2 separate regions of the Homo sapiens genome follow, and region 2 is linked to region 1. Evidence: promoter capture Hi-C in 16 types of primary human blood cells and fetal thymus (Javierre and others, 2016). All regions are on one chromosome and are shown on one strand. The core of a region is centred on a gene start or on the middle of the fragment in contact, and the rest is flanking DNA. Distances in the headings are between cores, read along the strand shown. Region 1 holds the start of EDNRB (endothelin receptor type B). Region 2 overlaps RBM26 (RNA binding motif protein 26).

Region 1 (2,700 bases), core at 36-2,535:
AGTCTGAGGTAGCCTTGCATTCCTAACAAACTCTCAGGTAATATTGATGCTGACTGTCCATGGACCACACACTTTTGACTAGAGGATGTACCCCATTAGGTGCACTTAGGGACTAGATCCTTCAGGACTAGTGGTTCTCAAACTTTACAGTTCATCATAATCACATAAAGGGCTTGTTAAAATACAAATTACTGTGCTCCACTCCAGAGTTTCTGATTCAGTAGGTCTGGGGTGAGGCCAGAAAAATCTTCATGTGCACCAAGTTCCCAAAGTGATACTAACATTGCTAGACTGGGGACTACGCTTGTCCTAAGCTTAGCAGAGGTCTACTGAAGACCTGAATGGAATTTTATTCCAATGGTTACTGACTTTTATGAGTGGACAGAACCAAATGGAATTTGGTTCCAAAGATTACTGACTTTTAGGAGGGGCAGAACCTTAAGAGGGAGCTAAAGGGAAGCTCCCTCTACAAGCTTTCTCATCTCCCCGTCTCCAACCAGGCCCCCTTCCTCAAGCCCACCATGATTTCAGCAGGCGCCCTTTACCTTGTAGACATTGATAGGGATGTCAATGACGATGTGCAGCAGGTCTCCCAGAGCCAAGCTGGCGATCAAGATATTGGGACCGTTTCGCATGCACTTGTTCTTGTAGATAATTCTCAGAAGTGTGGAGTTCCCGATGATCCCCAGCACGAACACAAGGCAGGACACAACCGTGTTGATGTATTTGAAAGTCTCCTTGATCTCGATGGGTCCTTGGCACGGGGGAGGGGAGATGGTGCGTGGCGGAGATCCTGCCGTCCTGTCTCCTTTAGGCACCTCCGCAGGTGCCAACGACCGCGCCAGACTGGCGTTGGAACCCTTGGGCCATAAGGTCTTAGTGGGTGGCGTCATTATCTCTGCGGTTTGCAAAAGCGGAGTGGCCCTGTCAGGCGGGAAGCCTCTCTCCTCTCCCCAGATCCGCGACAGGCCGCAGGCAAGAACCAGCGCAACCAGGGCGCGTCCGCACAGACTTGGAGGCGGCTGCATGCTGCTACCTGCTCCAGAAGGCGTCCGGTGGCCGCTCCGCAGTTTCAGAGCCTAGAGACAAGCAGAGGAAGGAAGACAGGACACTTGGGTCAGCTGCCCGAGCCAAGTCGCTGCAAACGCTAATACCGCCCGCAGCCTCTTCGCCAGTATCCACGCTCAAAAGTAACTCAAGTTTGCGCGCCAGTGGGAAACTTGGCGCTCATGACTCGCCAGCGCGGGTCGAAACTCCTTCCTGATGCCCTCTCAGCTGTTTTTCTTCCCCCGCGTGGCCAGGAGGGGTAAATAATATGCAGTGGGGCGGGGCGTTCTGGAAGGGGTGTGCCAGGGAGGGAATGATGGGGGTCCCAGGCAAAGCTCCGAACTCTTTCACGTAACGGGAGGAATACAGACACGTCTTAGTTAAGCGTGCGTGGGAACCGCGGAATTAAGGCACCTAGAGGCCAAGGGCTTGTGTCAAGCTCTGCATTTTGCCCCGCAGGGGAACCTCTATACCCCGCGATTGAACTCGAAAGACTCCTCCCGGCGGATGAAAGCCGCTACTCCCTGGCTGGCTGAGCTACAGCTCCCGCAGCGCGCCCAGGAGTGCGCCGGAGATTCGGAAACCCGCAGAGACTTCTCAAGTCAGCAGGAACTTGGAAACCGCTGTTCCCTCCAAACGGCTTCAAACACTCGCGCTCCTTCCTTTACCCAACCTAATTTTAATTTGCCCTCTCTATAGGCTTAATTTTTATTTTTTTAAAATCCCAAACTAGTAAGCCAAACCGAAGCCCCAGAATAAGGTTCAATCAATGATTTTAATTCAACACCAAGCCCGAATGTTTACCTCTCGGATCTGACAAACCAGATGCAGAGCGACGAATGGAGACCACCTTCCCGGGAGGCGGAACCCAGCTGGGTTCCAGCCTGCTCTGGGAGAGGAGCACGCCTCCCTTGAGCTGCAGGCGGGTCCGGCTCTGACGAAACGCTGCGAGAATGCCAGACAGTGTAGCCTCCACCGTTTGCTCGGGGTCTCTGCTGCCATCAGACAAGTACTTTTATTCATTCATCCCTTCCCATCAATCACCGCCAGACTCCTCCCGCGCCTTCCGACCCCGCTGCAACCTTTCCCCTTGGGCGATGCCTGGACAGCATCAGTAGTAGTTGCCCGAGGGAGGGGGGCAGTCCTCGTCCGGGGACAGGTCCCAAAAGGCTGTTTATTTGTTAGAGTTCTACGCTCTTCAAATGAACCCAAATCAAGGGCAAGTTATCACGCACCATGTGACACCCGGCAGCTCCAGACTAGAACAAGGCTCTGCACTGAACGTGATAATTGAACTTTTAATGCCAAGTGTCACTTTTCTTTCAGGTAAATGTTCCGCCGCTGTGATATTTAAGGTTGGTTTGTGGGCGCTGCTCTTTGCTCTGCTTCATTTTGCCCTGAAGTTTCATTTCAAGCCAACATTAACCCCAACACGGAACAGCTCGATCTTTTCTTCCCAGGCCCTCTCACTGCCCCGAGAGAGGATTACAAGTACTCCTCATTTTCCCCAGTACAGCTCTTCTCCTCTCTTCCTGCCACAGTATCGGTGTTAGGCAATCTCAGGCATTTTTATACTGTACCTATGACAGACTTGATGCTTATCGGAGACATGAAAATAATCAGAAAGCTGCCATGCAAATTCAACATGATATT
Region 2 (2,700 bases), core at 180-2,679, 1.5 Mb after region 1:
CACCTACTCAGGAGGCTGAGGCCTGAGAATCGTTTGAACCTGGGAGGTGGAGGTTGCAGTGAGTCGAGATTGCACCACTGCACTCCAGCCTGGGTGAGAGAATAAGACTCTGTCTCAAAAAAAAGAAAAAGAAATAAGAAGTTAGCCAAGTTAACAATAACCTTTTATGACAAAAATATTAAGCAAATTAAGAAAAAAATTCTCAATCTGGTAAAAGGCAGTTACTAAAAACCTAGAGCCAATATCAGTAATACTGAAACATTTAATCTCTTTCCCTTTAGACTGGAAACAAGACATGGACGTCCACTCTTACTACTTCAACATTGTACTATTGCTTCTAGCCAGCATGATAAGAAATGAAGGTATATTGGGAGGTTGAGGCAGGCGGATCATGAGGTCAGGAGATCGAGACCATCCTGGCTAACACGATGAAACCCTGTCGTCTCTACTAAAAATGAAAAAAAAAAGTTAGCCGGGTGTGGTGGCACGTGCCTGTAGTCTCAGTTACTCGGAAGACTGAGGCAGGAGAATCGCGTGAACCCGGGAGGTGGAGGCTGCAGTGAGCTGAGATCACGCCACTGCAATCCAGCCTGGGCAACAAACCAGACTCCATCTCAAAAAAAAAAAAAAAAAAAAAAAGAAATGAAGGTATAAAAATCAGAAAATTGTCATTACTCATAGATGATGAGATTGGTAGAAGAAAATTCCACAGAATCTATAAAATAGCTACTAGAATAAGTACACTTGGTAAAATTTCAGAATTCAACGTCAATATACAAATATATTTCTATATACTAACAATAAAAATCAGAAAATCAAAATTTTAAAAGCATTTGTAAAACATGTCGCAGAAAAAAATAACAAAAGAAATGCTTCTACATAGGTAAAATATCTCAAGAAGAATCACTAAGTAACAGATCTTGAACTTACTCCATTATTTAATACACACATAAAAGATACTAATAAAACCCTAAGTTAAAAATAAACTTTTACCTATTTCAAAGTTACTGCATGTAAATTGAAAAGACTTTTTCCACAGAAATAAAGTAGTAGGAGAGTAATGAGTAAGTCTAGTAGGAACAGCTTACCATTCATTCATTTCTCTCATTCATTCTTTTCTCTGGCACAAAGGAAGCAAGAAGAGGGAAAAAAATCTTACAAGCTATTTAGCTCAAGCTTCAGTTAGTCATTCTCAAGCTTAGGTTATGTACATAACTAACATGGGAATATTTTACATTTTGCTCATAATACAGTCCCTATCTCTCAGTTTAAGCATGTAAAATAATTTTGAGAAGCACTGTCAGCCAAAGATAAGGAAGTGCTAAAACATACAGAAAAAAAGTGCTAAATGCATTTTAACCACTCAGCATTCAGATGGAAAGGCCAAATAAGATTGCAGCAGCAAAATGTGATTATGAAAGTCAATTTATCACAAGTTAAGGGGATAAAGAAATAAAGAAAAATGTTTTAACCAATAATTATAGACTATTAACTCTTCTACCAGCTATAAAATTCATCAGGTTAGAATTACTATAATTCTTTTATGTGCAGCTCTATGGAGACAGCAATCTTGCACATAGCAACATTCAATAATACTTTAACAAGTAAATATTAATATACTTCAATGACCTTTCCCTCTCAAAGAAAAAAAAAATCTGAACTTAAGCTTTACCTAAACTGAAGATGCTAGGAGTAAAAATGGAAAGAAGTAGACCCAAAGACTACTTAATCTTCAAATAGCTCACATATCTGCTGTTCTGAAGTTGGGTAGATTCTATAGTTTTACCCAAATTATTGCCTCTTCCCTTGGTTTTAGGTACACAAACTTGAAATTTCAACTAACGCATTTAATAATCAGGTATATACTACACACAAAGCATTGTGCTAGATAATGTATATAATGAACAGGAACATAGTTAAATCTTAAGAGCTGGAGTCTGCTTTCAAGGGCCTGAGACTCTAATAATAAAGCTAAAATAACACGACTAAATAATTTAATGTACAAGTGATGAGTGTCATGACAACTGAAACCAGTGCTGAGAGAGAGGAGTCATGGTGGGAGGAGTCACTTCACCCAGCTGGATAGATCATAGGCAGCTTTCTGGAAGAACTGGAATCACACTTGATCTTTGACTTCAACACAAAGAAAGGATATAAAGACAGTACACCATAATACAACAAGGCTCTGGAATCAAAATGTCTTCTTTTGGATCCTGTCTCCATCACTTACTAGCTATGAATAAAGTATGCTAATTCATCTTCCTAACACCTATCTTGCACACAATGAATGTATAACAATTAACATATATTAATAGTAAGCACTCAATAAATGGTGCCCACTACTAATCTTCAGAAAAAAGAAACAGTAAAGTTTCAGAAAAAAGAAACAATAAAAAAAAATGACAGTGAATCACGAAAGTTCAGCTTTGCTGAAATTAAGACTCATATAAAAAGTAGAAAGATATAAATGGAAAAGATAATTTAAAGCAAATCATTAGCTTTCTTAAAGGCAAGCTAAAAAGTATGCAATTTATTATCTGGGAATGCTGAAGGTTTTGATCAAGCAATGGGATACAAACAAGGCTGGGCATCCATGTCAGAAGAACTGGAAGGGAGAAAGGCCTAGAGATAAAAACAGATTTGTTAGGAAGCAAACTGCAATCATTTAGATACGGAGTGTGAGCCCCCTACTAAGCAATG

What was found. The method cuts DNA at HindIII sites, captures the fragments that hold promoters and counts their contacts. A CHiCAGO score of 5 or more calls a contact.
Region 2: a fragment that was not itself captured here is called in contact with the fragment with the promoter of EDNRB in region 1 in 1 of 17 cell types (M0 macrophages); the score reaches 5.1 in M0 macrophages.

Annotation. Positions count from the first base shown.
Region 1 is chr13:77,917,546-77,920,245 of GRCh38, forward strand. EDNRB (endothelin receptor type B) reads right to left here and starts at 1,286. Exons shown (of 7, transcript NM_001122659.3): 1 at 546-1,286. The coding sequence starts at 1,028. RefSeq lists promoters at 1,215-2,287, 1,277-1,391 and a cis regulatory region at 1,643-1,652. The HindIII fragment of the contact is 2,812 bases long and covers 472-2,700 here.
Region 2 is chr13:79,397,065-79,399,764 of GRCh38, forward strand. The region is part of intron 1 of RBM26 (RNA binding motif protein 26); the gene reads right to left. Among named protein-coding and RNA genes, the nearest start is that of RBM26, 7.8 kb to the right of the region's middle. The HindIII fragment of the contact is 469 bases long and covers 1,196-1,664 here.